Regions from separate parts of the Homo sapiens genome. Here regions 2, 3 and 4 are each linked to region 1. Evidence: promoter capture Hi-C in 16 types of primary human blood cells and fetal thymus (Javierre and others, 2016). All regions are on one chromosome and are shown on one strand. The core of a region is centred on a gene start or on the middle of the fragment in contact, and the rest is flanking DNA. Distances in the headings are between cores, read along the strand shown.

Region 1 (3,357 bases), core at 754-3,253:
GCATCAATGCTCCTGTACATTTATCATTTTGATAGCCATTCTCCTGGTGGTTTAAAATCTTAAAATACAGAGAGGAGCACACTCACCTTTGTTCAGCCGACCCAAAGACCAATATTTCCCTTTTTCCAGGAGCATTATACTTCACAAAGCAGGTTCACGTTCATTTGCTCTTAGGCCTCAAATTATTGCTATAAATTTATTTTAAAATAGCATGTCCAGTACATAATCAGTGACAACCAGATAAACCTCTAGTTTTTGGCGTGACAAGACAGAAACTTGTGTCGGATCCTCCTAACATTGGGTATATACTCTAGGCAAAATATAAAAATAACTGTATGAAAGCATGGAGACTGATCAAGAGTTAGAAACCTACAGGGAGTATAGTCCTCAAAAAAAGGAAGTCCACCAAGTGACTTATACATGTATAGGCTTTTCCTCTGAAGATACTTCAGAGTTCACTGCAGTACACAGGGAAACAGCTCTGTCAGCAACTGGCAGTCTTACTAAGGAAACAGCTTTTGGAGTACAGAGATGCCAGAGCATCTGGAAATTGAGGAAGAAATTTAGAAAATGAATAAATTACAGAGAGAGGAACTCAAAATCTGCATCCTAACTCCCCTCCAATTCTTAGCTATCTTCTAAATGGCACTTGCGCAGGGTGAGATTTCAAGGAACCTAGTGAAAAAGTCAAATATCTGAACAGAGATTTTGGCAGCTGTCACAGTGTTAGGGTGACTGAGTTTGGAGTTCAGGACCCGTAAAATAGAGAGTTTTGGTAAATGACTTTGGGTTATGTTGAAATCCAAAAAGGACCACACCTTAGCCATAAGCACCATATCCCAGGACTAAGAGATACAGGCTAGAATTGAGAATAGGATGAAGTACTCCTTCCCTAACCAGACTGCCACAGGATCAAGACTTTTTACCAAAAATTTAATTGCCTGCCAGAACAAACTCAAACTATTACCCTTTAAAGATAATAATATAATTCAGATCCTTTGTAATGTATCAACCCCAAATGTTCACTATACAAACCCTTAGGTTTAAGTAATCCACTATCTCGACCTCCCAAAGTGCTGAGATTACAAGCATGAGCCACCATGCCCAGTTTAATAAATGTTTTAAGCTTAATGAAAAAAAATTTAAATGCCAGTCTAAGAGTTAGAAAGCTCACAAACTAGCTTGTAAGTACACAAGAGTGAAAGCAAGAGGTCAGTTAGCTAGTTAGTTACTACAACAACTCAATTTAAAAGAGTACAGTGTCCAAGGCCTGGCATGGTGGCTCATGCCAGTAATGCCAACACTTTGGGGGGCCAAGGTGGGAGGATTGCTTGAGCCTAGGAGTTTGAGATCAGCCTGGGAAACATGGCAAAACCCTGTCTCTACAAAAATAAATAAATAAATAAATAAAATTGGCTGGGCATGGTAGTGTGCACCTGTAGTCCCAGCTACTCTGGAGCCTGAGGTTGAGTAGAGGTCGAGCGGAGGTTGTGGTGATCTGAAATTGCAAGACTGTCTCAAAAAAAAAAAAAAAAAAAAGTACAGTGTGCAGTGGTTTGGACCAAGGCGATGGCAGTGGATGTGGAGTAAAGTGGATGGATGTGCCATATATAATATATAATATATAATATTATATATATATATATAGCAGATCGAACCTATATGATTTCTAAAGGGTTTTAAGTGGGCCAGAGTAAAGAGTGTCAAGGATAATAAAATAAACTAAATTCCTTGAGTGCCTACTGTTTCATCGCTGTTCATATTTGATTCTCACAACAAACCTGAGTAGGTACAACTTGCACCCGTATCTTACGTGCCATCCGTTTCTGCAGCCTTAGGACTGGGAGTACAGGCGGTGGTTCTTGGGACCCAGCTAATGCCCGAAAGGAGCCGGGTCAGGAATTCCAAGAGATGAGGGTGGGGAGGCGGTAGGGGAAGGAGCTGGGGAGGCGACCGCAGGGGCAGGGCCCGCTCACGATTGGCTGAACTGCCGAGGAGGGTTAAACAGATTCGGAGTCGCGGGCTGGTGGGAAGCTGCAGCCCCGCTCAGCCCCTCGGCCGTGGCCGCTACCTTCACTGAGACTTGGCCGGGGAGTGAGCGCGCCGAGCCTGGGAGGATACAGCACCCACTGTGGCCTGGGAGCTCCGAGGGGCTCCAGCTGCTTGTCTGCTTCCTGCTGCTGAACAGCTGCCCGGGGGGCTGCAGCGACACTAGTGCCCACGGTCAGGAGGAACCCTGGGGGGTGCGGGCAGGGCCAAGAAAGCGATCCTGAGAAGTGGGGGTCTGCAGGGGGCCTCAAGGCTAGGAAACTTGGAAGTAAAAGAATGTGCTTAAGGACGTGAGAAGAGAAAAAGGTAGACAGCGTCTAGCGGAAAGAGGCATAGGCTTCAGATAGGCTGGGCATATGGGGTCTGGACTCACGAGAAGTGGGTTCAGGTGAAAATTGGGGATTTGGGAAGAGGTCAGAAAGACAAATGAACAGAGAGAGGTAAAACTGGCCTATGTGGCCACAGGAGAAGCAAGAAAGGCCAGAAAAAGAGTTGACCAGGGCTGCGGGTATCGGGGTCTTGGCTCCAGGGAGAAGGCTGGGCCAGGAGACGAGCCAGGGCTTCCTCGTGCTGTGATCCGGTTTCCAATAAGGGGACCGCTGAGGGAAAGCAGGATGGAGGGGGAATGGGACCATCCTTCTCCCCTTCCCCCGCACCAATCCGCGTAGACCCCGCGCTGACTCACGTGCCAGACTGCGCACACTCGAGAACTCCTGCGCAGAGCGCATGGGGAAGAGAGCGCAAACTCCTAGTCTGTCGCCCCCTCTCCCTGATTTTTGGTTTTAGAGGCCAATGCAGCGGATTCAGGAACAGCTGTGGGAGGAGGCCTGGTGGCAATGAGAGGATGAGGGCCGTGGGGAAGGACCGCCAAGCCTTGCGGAGATGTCTCGCCCACATTCCGCCCAGCGCCGCCGCCACGCTGGCCTCCCCACCTCTCAGCACCACGGACAGCGCCAGGCGCGCTCCGGGTCCACGCCGAGCCCGAGCGGGTCACCACTCCTTCCCACCAGTCCTGGGAACGCTGCCTCAGAGAATCAGCTCCCCTTCCCGAAGCTCTTTCCCTTCTCCTCAGGGTGTTGGAGGTTCCACTACTTCCTTAAGGAGGCTTTCTCATCCCCAAATGTCTCTACTTAAAACTTTGTCACGCTTACCCCCAGGAAATTATTAGACATCCATTTGACTGGGTAGGAGAATTCCCTTTTCTAAAGACCTGTCCAGAATGGCTCATGGTAACTACACTATAGCAAAAAACAGACTGTCCTCCAGCCCTATCTCACTGATCTGGAAGAAGGAAGGTGTGCATAGCAT
Region 2 (3,227 bases), core at 92-2,591, 270 kb after region 1:
CGCCAGCGGACGCTATGAAGGCAAGATCGCTCGCAGCTCCGAGCGCTTCAAGGAGCTCACCCCCAATTACAATCCAGACATCATCTTCAAGGACGAGGAGAACACAGGCGCCGACCGCCTCATGACCCAGGTGAGCGCGATCCGCCCTACCAGCGCGCCGCCACCGAAGCACGGCCACCTGCCCGGCCCTACCCACCCCCTGGCACATTTTCTCGACTGGCTGGCACGCTCCCTGGCACCTGCCCCTCTCGCCAAGCCCCGCTGCCTCCTGCCCAAGATGGGCTGGCCAGGGGTCCAGGCAGGAGTGTCGGCATCCCCAAGCCCGGAGGAGACTGCTAGAAGAGCTCCCCGCTGCCAAGCCCCACAGCCCAGCAGGTTGGCGGCGGCTCCTCTGCCCCAAAGTACTGGCAGCTCAGCCAGACGCTGCACCCGGAGGTACCTCTACCCGGCTGCCTCCTGCGCCTCCAGGACCCACGCAGTCCCTCCCGGCCTAACCTTCTGCACAGCTGTGCCCCTTTCATTTTGAAACTTTTCGGCACCCCTGAGGCAAAGAATCTCTGGGTGCGTAGGGTCACCACGGCCTTTCCTCCCTGTGCGCTCTTGGTTCTACGGGCTGCCCCTTCCAGGAGCAGCGTCCCGGCTGGGTCTGGGGTTAAGAACAGCGAGGAAGAGTTGAATCGGGAGGCGGAGGTGGGAAAAGGAACCTGCCCAGCGAGCCCACGTGTCTGTCCGGAGAGCTGAGGGGTGCTACTGCGGTGGAAGGGTGGGTTATTGGGGCCTTCGGGCTCTGGGACTGAGCTTAGGGGATTCCTGGGCTTGGTGGTGGGGACGGGAAGGAGTGGAAAAGAGGGGCTGAGATGCCGAGGGAGGCAGGGACCAGGGCTGACGCTAGTCTCTGCATGCTGGAGTAGGACCCGCGCTCCACCCAAGCTTAGAGGCGCAAATTCCTTCCCAGCAGCCAGGTCCGCGAGGGGAGAGACCTTCACCCCCTTCCTTCGGGGTCTCCCGAGGCTTCCCCCTGAAAGCAGGCCCCTGGCTTTCTAGATCCGTTGGGAAGAGCAGCTAGACTCAGGGCCCTCAGCATGCACCCTGGCGCCGGGGCTGGCCGGCCAGTGTCGGGGCCGAAGGTTGGCTGGTGGCCGGGCCGGGCCGGGCGCCGAGGAATGCAGATAAGGATCCGGGCCACGGGCTGGGCAATCATTGACAGCGCACGCCCGGGCTCTGGACCCGAGAGGGGGCGGTGGCAGTGAGGGAGAGAGGCGGGGAACCAGGGCTGCAGGCGGGCATAGGTGCGGGGCTAGAAGCCTGACGGCAGGGTCTACGAAGGAGCAAGCGGAGCTCCCTCCCTGGGCAGTAAGCACCCCCAGCCAGGCTGTGCACCAGCGAGGACCTGCGAGGCCCTGGGTTGTAGCTGCTATTGGCTCCTAGGAAGGCTGAGTCCAAGGGTCTGTGAGGCCCGGGCTCTGCAGGGTGGGGGTAGGTTGAGACTTGGGCTGCCCACACTTGTTGGCGCCTCGAATCTCAGAGTCTCAGAGTCGAGGACTGGTGGAAGGGCCTTTCCCCTCAGACCAAGGCCCTGGCCCCAGCTTCTTCTCAGAGTCAGCTGCACAGTCTCTTGGGCTCTCAGGACCCAGGCACACCAGGAGGCAGCAACCAAGGATGACCGCTTCGGTCCTTCCCCCAGGGCGCGGCTCTACCCCAACTCCACGTGAGGAGGATGGTGGAGCTGGCTCCCTGAGATCAGAAGCTTGGTTTATGGAGTTCCTTCCTACGGTATAGGGGCGGGGCACCGGTGCAGAGGTCCTGGAGGTCTGGGATTGTCAGCCCCTTTTGCGCCTTGCAGAGGAAGACGTTGCATGTGGCCCCCCATTGGGCGGCCCTGGCGCTAATCCGCCGGTTTCTGGTTCCCTGGCCCTGTCATCTCTGGCGGGGTTGTGGGCCGGTTTAAGATTATAAGAGGGTCCCGGCGGGAATCCTCGGTGGTGCTCGAGGGATCCAGGCAGGCCGGCGATTCCCCTCCAACACACCCCCTGAAGCTACCGAGACGCTCTGCACCTGCCGCGCCTCCAGAGCCTGTCGTCCCCAGGCCTCAGCCCTGAGGCTGCGGTGACACCTACTGGGCACCTCGGGCCTTGCACGCCTCGCAGGCCGGCCGCAGGCAGTCGGCTCTGCTGCCACTCCTCCCTCCCGGCCGCTGGCTGGCCCTCCTGCCTTGGAGGCACAGAGGGACCGGGCGCTGAAAGGTGTAGTCCTGTCTGTGGAGGGATGGATACCCGGAGCTGAAGACAGCACAGGAGAGAGGGGACCTCCACCTACCAGTGAAGGCGCCGCCAGGGCGCTTGCCTCCATGCCTCCTCCAGATTTGTGATACCGCCGTGCGGTCCAGATCCCCGGGGGCGGCTGTATGCTAGGGAGGGAGCACTTCAGGGCCCTCTGTTCCTAAGGGAGAGGGACAGCACCCTCCCGGGCTTCCAGCTCCCTTGGGTGTGGCGGGAGAGTTCTGGGCGAGGCTGCGCCTACACCTGCACCTCGGCCGGCTCCTCCGGCTGATTTCGCTCTGGTTGATTTCGCGCACATTCCTCTCCCAGCGCTGCAAGGACCGCCTGAACTCGCTGGCTATCTCGGTGATGAACCAGTGGCCCGGTGTGAAGCTGCGGGTGACCGAGGGCTGGGACGAGGACGGCCACCACTCAGAGGAGTCCCTGCATTATGAGGGCCGCGCGGTGGACATCACCACATCAGACCGCGACCGCAATAAGTATGGACTGCTGGCGCGCTTGGCAGTGGAGGCCGGCTTTGACTGGGTGTATTACGAGTCAAAGGCCCACGTGCATTGCTCCGTCAAGTCCGGTGAGCCGCCGCCGGGGGGCTGGGCCCGGGGCCGGGGCCGCAGGGCATGGGCAGGAGGAGTAGTGCCGAGAAGGTGAAGAGCCCGCCCGGGGATGGAGGCAGGGATCCGGGGGAAGAGGACATCAGCGGCGCTCTCCAAGGCTGCTCCTGACCGTGACTGCCTGCTCATCCCATGCCTGGCAGTGTCATGGTAGGAGCCTAGGGCGATAGGGCCCTGTCCCAGGGCTGCTGGGTGCTGACCTGGTGGCCCACAGTCCAGAGCCTGCCACAGGAGGTGCAAGACAGAGCAAGCTGGACAGATGGAGGAAGCCAGGCTGCCAGACAAGGCCTCCCCACCCCACCTGGCACAGAACAAGGCGGGTGGTGGGGCCAGGAGC
Region 3 (3,338 bases), core at 808-3,307, 290 kb after region 1:
TTTATTATTCCTCACACCAGCTTCCAGGCCAGGAGGATCTGAGGCCGTCTCCCTTCCATCCTTCCTCCCTTCTCCTACATCCTGATAATCAATTTTCTGTATTGTCACCCAGCCTTGAACCAAACAGCAAACCCTCCCCAGTGATTTTTTTTTTTTTTAAGATAGAGTTTCGCTCTGTCACCCAGGCTGGAGTGCAGTGGTGCGATCTCAGCTTACTGCGACCTCTGCCTCCCAGGTTAGAGCAATTATCTTGCCTCAGCCTCTCGAGTAACTGGGATTACAGGCATGAGCCACCATGCCCGACTAATGTTTATGTTTTTAGTAGAGGCACGGTTTCACCCTGTTGGTCAGGCTGGTCTTGAACTCCTGACCAAACTCCTGATCCACTAGCCTCCACCTCCCAAAGAGTGGGCATTACAGGTGTGAGCCACCGCACTTGGCTGCCTCTCCCATGATCTATTTTTGGGTCCAGGGAAAATATGATCAACAGGTCCCAGGACCCATTATTCCACTGGTTCTAGGCTCCTGGAAAGGGAGAGTTTCAAAGCAAACTCAGCTTCCTCTTTTCCCTCCTCAGGCTCAATCCCTTGTGAAGGCTCTTTCCATGTGTGTGCCTCCCTGGGCAAAGTCCAGCACACAGGCTTCTCCCTGGGAGTCCACTGATGTCAGCTGTGGTCACTAGGCATCAGGGCTTCTAGGAGGCAGCTAGACGCTTACAGAAGCAGAGGCTACAGGGGCCCTGCTAAGAGGAGGAACCATTCCCTTTAATTTTTCCAAACCCAGAATCCACCATTGAGCAGGCAAGAGCTCAGGAAGGAGACTCCCCGGTGAAGAGGCACGAGGACGCCTTTAGCATGAGCTGTGCTTCCTCCTTGGAGTTTTCCCACTGAGATTCCTGGGGCCAACACCAAACCCTGCCCCCAAAGTCCCTATTTCATTTTCGCCTAAGAATGAACCAGTTCCTTTCCTTGTCCTTAAGGTCCAGCTGAGTTAGGCTGACCATTTCAAAAAGAATTTGGGGAAAAACAAAAAGGAAATAATTATAGAAACTACAAACAGCATAAAAGTCGTCATGTCCAAAGTGCAGGTTTCAGATTCTGAGAATCCCATTAAATCCAGGGAAAAGCTCACTGAGTTCCACATTCTTTGATTCCCGGAAAACTCTTGATCCTGCTGGCGTAATTTACCAGGCGCCCTGCCTGCCCCTTCCCTCCAGCCCTGCCAGTCTCTGGCCATGTGATCTCCCAGGCCAGCTCAGGCCACTTTGCCATCTCAGTCCATCTTTCACCTTTCACAAGTCAACTCCAACTCTCCCAAAATGATAGCTTATTTTCTGTGTTTACCCCTAGACTCACTAAGCTCTCTCCCCCTAGTCACATCCCCCCTTCCATCTGAAAGGAAATAGGTTCACTGTCTTGAGGAGCAAAACATCCTTAGTTACCCAAGAGTGAACTTTGAGACTTTCAGCTTCACCTACTAAGGAGTCTTCACAAAATAGGACCCTTCCTCCAACACACATACCAACAAATGAACCAATGGGCTTCCGAAAGTCTACATTATGTATAATAATTCCTTTATACATTAACCTTCCGATCCCTTCAAAAGAGTTATTTTTCTTGTTGCTGACCAAGAAGAAATGCCGGGAGAAAACGCAGAGGACGCATTCCCTCTCATCAGCAAAAGGGTTCTATTTGCAAAGCAATATTCAAATAAGAAATAACTGCGGGCTGCTTTTAAGTTAACAATTGCAATCACAGAGAATGAGCTTCTGTCTCTATGCATGTCAGAGTGCCAAGCCCACAGAGTAGCTTCCTGTGAATTTGGTCGTCAATTAAAGTCATGATTGCTGGAACGTCACGACAACTAGGAGGCTCTACATTACCATGTCGCGACAGGTAGAAGCCCACAGTTACTACCAGCAGGAAAAGTCAGGGAATCAAAACTGAATATAGGAAATAAAATTGGGCGGTGCCTTCGCCTTCTACGAATCTTGACTTACTCGGGCTGCCGTCGTTGCCCTGGGATATCTGAAGACGCCGTTTCCTGCGCGTCCTGTATCTATGGAGACGGCAATATGGAGGCGATGTAAGTTCTGAGCGTTAGTCCCAAGGTCCCAGGGTCTCAGGGAGCGGCGCGAGTGGCCAGGGAAGGTATCTGTCCCGGGAGACCCTATCCTTCGGGAAATCGTGGCCAGAGGTCCCCTCCATGCCCTTCAGAGAGCCCCATGGGACTGAGTCTTGGGCGAGATCAATCAGACTAAGGATCCCGAAGAGAAAGAAGAAACAGCTCTAAGTGTATTTTGTCCCCCTTTGTTTCATCTATTTCTTTCTCCCTCGACTCTATACGACGACCTGCCACTTTTTCTAGTGGTCATCTTGGAGATTTTTAGATCAGCAATTAGGCAAATAAAGGAAGCTCATGATATATATTTTTTAAAGTCCTCGAAATTGGAAACTTCAATTTAAAACAAAACAAATCCAAAACAAAACAAAAAACCTCGCTTGCCCAGTCTCTTCACAACGACTGCAGATGTGTGAGTCTTTTGGAAGAATAGTGCAGGCTAGTGGGAAAGTTATGGTTGTTAATTACTATAACGTGTTTGTTTAGTGCTTTTTCAAATCCTCTGTTTCATTCGAGCTGCACATCGACTTTGTGAAATCGTCAGGATAACCCACATTTTACAGGCGAGGAGGCTGAGGCTCCGGGAGATGGAGAAATTTGCCTATCCCCGTAGAGTCTGAGAAGATGCTGGCACCCAGCGTCCCTTGCCCTGGGACCACTTCCCTAGCCCTATGACCTGTGTTGGACCAGCTTTCTACCCCATCATCTCTCATCTCTTCCATGCACTCTCTGGAATAGTTTCATGTGTTGAGTGGAGACTTTTTCAGAGCTCTGAGGCAGGAGCTGTCTGTACAGTCCCCTGAGGTCAGAGGCATTAATGAGTCAGGACAGGGCTGCAAGACCATCCCGTGGCAGAAAAGTAATGGACTCTCTCTGTGTCTCCTCAGCTTACATTTCTTTGATTTCATCTGAACGTCCAGTTCACAATTGGAGGTAGGAGCCTTGCCTGCCTTGTCTGGTGCCTAGCACAGTACCTGGTACATAATAGTAAGTGCTTTGTGAATGAACGAACGACTGAATCTAGATAGTCCCCTCCAGAGGGTTTAGACATGTTGCCAACTAGGAAAACCAGGGTCAACAGAATCTTCCGCTTTGGAAGGGTGTTGGTGGGTGGTGGGGGAGGGATAAGAGAGTGTCTGATGGAACTGTATAAATTCCTAAAGGGTGATCATGAAATTGTTTGCTAAATCTGAACACATTAAAATAAGGAACTAAAC
Region 4 (3,475 bases), core at 166-2,665, 260 kb after region 1:
CCAGCCTGGGCAACCAAGTGAAACCCTATCTTTACAAAAAACAAAATTAGCCAGATATGGCAGCATGTGCCTGTGGTCTCAGCTACTTTGGAGGCTGAGACAGGCGGATTGCTCGAGCCCAGGAGTTCAAGGCTGCAGTGAGCTCTGATTGTGCCCATGTACTCCAGCCTGGGTGGAAAAAAAAAAAAAAAAAAAAAAAGGCCTCATCCTAACCAGGAGCCATGAGAGGAAGAAAGTTCCTTTCCTAATTTCAGTGGAACTATTTCAAAACCCCTACTAACTTGGGTTCCCTTTTTTCTAGGGTACTTCAGGCCCTCTGCAGAGACCTCAGCTGTCAAAGGTCAAGAGGAAGAAGCCAAGGGGTCTCTTCAGTTAATCTGTTGTGGCCTCAGCTGCTGAGGATGGACTTGGAGAACAGCTTCCAAGCTTCACCTTGAAAGAAGCTTACATGGCAGCAATATTTCTAAAATAGTGATACAGTCAGAGGCCTCCTGTAAGGGCGAGAGAACTGAAGTTGATGTTGACAGGCCCACAGGGAATTGGCCTTCCCTGTTCAAGTGGAAGCCAGTCTCTGAGAATCCCGTGCTCTCCTCTCTTTTGGTGGAGGTTCTGTAGGTTCAGGTTTCTACCATGGACTTTAGGTATATAGGGCAAGTCAGCAAGAAAGCACCACACACTCAGGAAGCCTTGTCTACCTTTCCCTAGCGTCTCTAGCCAGCCAGCCCCAGATACTCCTCAGAGACCCACTTCTCTCTTTTGCATGGAATAAAAAGCACTCACAGTCCCTGCTTTTGGGATTACTTATGCTGTGGAACTCATAACCCAATTCACTTCCTTCACTGGGTCCCACCCCATTGTTGTCTCTGGATGAAGTCTAGCCATCAGTCTGGTCCTTCAGATTCTTCGTAAACTTTTCTGCAGTTGCCAGAGCTAAGTCTCCATTTGGAAACTTTGATCTCAAGAACTCTCTTGATGGTGGGCACAAGACAGATAGGTGATTGCTGCTTTCCTTTGCCAAACTTGGATGCATTTTTCTCTTTGTTTCCAAAGTATAGGCAACAGGTTAAACTACCACGTGGGGTAGTTTATCAATCCTCCCGCCTCATCCTTCTGCATAACTGGGACTAAAGGCACACACCACCACACCTAGCTAATTTTTGTATTTTTTTGTGTGTGGAGACAAGGCTTTGCCATGTTGCCCAGGCTGGTCTTGAACTCCTGGACTCTAGTGATCTGCCCACCTCAACCTCCCAAAGTGCTGGGATTACAGGCATGAGCTACCACGCCTATCCAATTTCTGGTTTATTTACTTTCGATGGTTAAATGCCTCCTTATTCAAATATCCTGTATATATACTGGCGTTTCTGTCCTGATGTCAAGTCTCGAGAGAAGATGATCAAACAATAATAAAATAATTATAATAAGAACAACAATAATAAATAGCTAACATTTATTGAGCAGTTAATGTATACCAGCTACTCTAATGAGCACTTGACATTGATCCTCATAGCATCATATGAGGAAGATGCTGTTAACCCATTAAGAAATTGGATCCTGAAGTGAGTAAGTGACTTATCAAAGGTCATACAGCTAATAAGTGACAGCCAGAATTTAAGCCCAGACAGCTGAGTTCTTAACAGCATTATTATATACACTAATGAAAACATTTATTTTCCAGAAAGGACATTAGGTTCTTCTTTCCAGTCTCCCACTGTAAACCTCCTTATCCCATGACCTTGCCTCTTTTCAATAGGATGTCTGCTCCCCAGGGGCTCTTCAAGGAAGGAGCTCTTGAGGACTCCAGGACTTACCCTCATGCTTTTTCCTGCTAGCAGAGTCTGAGATCTCCACCAAGGCTCATTCCCAGTCACTGCTGATAACTTTTCTTTACCCCCAGACCACAGGACCCTAGAGTGTGCTGTGTGGTAGTGACTGTCATCGAAGTGAATTGGGAACTATATAAAAACAGCCTATCAGCTGGCTTACTTTGCTCTTTTGTTACTTTTTTTTTTTTTTAATGGAGTCTTGCTCTTGTTGCCTAGGCTGGAGTACAATCGCACAATTTTGGCTCACTGCAAACTCCACCTCCTGTGTTCAAGTGATTCTCCTGCCTCAGCCTCCCGAGTAGCTGGGATTAGATGCCTGCCACCAAGCCCGGCTAATTTTTGTATTTTTTGTAGAGACAGGGTTTCACCATGTTGGCTAGGCTGGTCTCGAACTCCTGACCTCAGGTGATCTACCTGCCTCGGCCTCCCAAAGTGCTGGGATTACACGTTTGAGCCACTGTGCCTGGCCGATCTTTCGTTTCTTTTCAGCATAATTTAGATAGTCAGATTTCAGTATCTACAAGGCACATGGAAAATGGAAAGGCTTCCCCTGCAAGCTTGGAGAAAATACCGGTTCTTCACCCTGGGCATTCCCTGTACTGTAACAGCACAGACTCAAGACATTTTTCATCACAGCGGGGCCAGAGGCCTGTGAATCCCTCAAAATTGTAGGTAAAATCTTAAGAGCAAAATTTTGTTGATGTTCTCAAAAAGAATGTGTGACTTTCTAAAAAGGTTAAGTAAGAATATAGCTAGTAACCTTCCATCCACTGCCCCCATCATCCCCAAAGGTTGCTGTCTCCATTGGGGTATTGCTTAAATACGTTGTTAGAGAAACATTGCTACCAGAGGCCCTGCCACAGGCATTCTTGCCCCGAAGCCCTTACCCCGCAAAGCTAGGGGTAGTGGTTGAGAATCATTCATCCTAAGGCAACTCCAGGGAAATCCCTGCTTTGACAAATTGGCCTAGCCAGGCTGTATTCCAGCCCTGCCCCCTGGCTTGGGCCCCTCCCTGAGGCCCCCAGCCTGGCCCAACCCCCACTCTACATGCACATAAAAGGGTCGAATTCTCGTGGCTGCTCCATAAATTTTATTCCGTAAATATTAGTTTTCCCTGTGTTTAATAAAGCAGTGGCCCACCTCCCCGCCTACCCGCCCGCTCCCCGGGGCTGGGGCTGGGGCCAGGGCTGGCTGGTGGGAGAAGGGACTCTTTCAATTGCTTTGGAGTATTTTTAGAAAAAAAAATAATATAAGGTGGTTTACACGAGCAAGCCAGCAAACCAGGAGCAGGACTTGGGACCTCGAGGAAGTTCCTGCAGGAACTTGACCTAAAAAGTAGAGAAATAGCGCCACCTAGATTGCAAGGCCTACTTGGCCTTGCCGGCTGGTCCCCCATAGTTAGCTAGGACAGGCATGCTCCCTGCTTGGAGAGAAAGCCTCATCCCTTTCCACTCTAGCTGGGTAGCACCTCCTTTTCTCATGCCTCAGTGGGGGCTTCCCCAGCAACCCTTAAAAGCAGAGCTCAGGCTGGGTCCTAAAAGATATCACTAGGGTCATTCTCTTCTCTTGTCACCAGGCAGCCAGTCTCCCAGATCAAGGAGGATTTCCAAGGGATAGTAAAGTTATTGAGAAGGCAGGAAGAAAGCTTC

Evidence for each region. The method cuts DNA at HindIII sites, captures the fragments that hold promoters and counts their contacts. A CHiCAGO score of 5 or more calls a contact.
Region 2: a contact is called between a fragment that was not itself captured here and the fragment with the promoter of RESP18 in region 1, in 5 of 17 cell types (naive CD4 T cells, erythroblasts, megakaryocytes and 2 more). The highest score is 6.7, in naive CD4 T cells.
Region 3: the fragment with the promoter of CFAP65 here is called in contact with the fragment with the promoter of RESP18 in region 1 in 16 of 17 cell types (erythroblasts, M2 macrophages, M0 macrophages and 13 more); the score reaches 15.0 in erythroblasts.
Region 4: a fragment that was not itself captured here is called in contact with the fragment with the promoter of RESP18 in region 1 in 3 of 17 cell types (erythroblasts, neutrophils and megakaryocytes); the score reaches 6.6 in erythroblasts.

The regions. Positions count from the first base shown.
Region 1 is chr2:219,331,390-219,334,746 of GRCh38, reverse strand. RESP18 (regulated endocrine specific protein 18) reads left to right here and starts at 2,003. Exons shown (of 6, transcript NM_001441699.1): 1 at 2,003-2,223. The coding sequence starts at 2,118. RefSeq lists an enhancer at 1-24. The HindIII fragment of the contact is 5,862 bases long and covers 1,129-3,357 here.
Region 2 is chr2:219,057,056-219,060,282 of GRCh38, reverse strand. IHH (Indian hedgehog signaling molecule) reads left to right here. Exons shown (of 3, transcript NM_002181.4): 1 at 1-130; 2 at 2,589-2,850. MIR3131 (microRNA 3131) reads left to right here and starts at 1,533; the gene lies at 1,533-1,595. The HindIII fragment of the contact is 817 bases long and covers 933-1,749 here.
Region 3 is chr2:219,040,235-219,043,572 of GRCh38, reverse strand. CFAP65 (cilia and flagella associated protein 65) reads left to right here and starts at 2,057. Exons shown (of 35, transcript NM_194302.4): 1 at 2,057-2,085; 2 at 3,009-3,054. The HindIII fragment of the contact is 30,940 bases long and covers 1-3,338 here.
Region 4 is chr2:219,073,282-219,076,756 of GRCh38, reverse strand. It overlaps NHEJ1 (non-homologous end joining factor 1), which reads left to right. Exons shown (of 8, transcript NM_024782.3): 8 at 302-3,475. The coding sequence ends at 376. Among named protein-coding and RNA genes, the nearest start is that of IHH, 14 kb to the right of the region's middle. The HindIII fragment of the contact is 1,940 bases long and covers 446-2,385 here.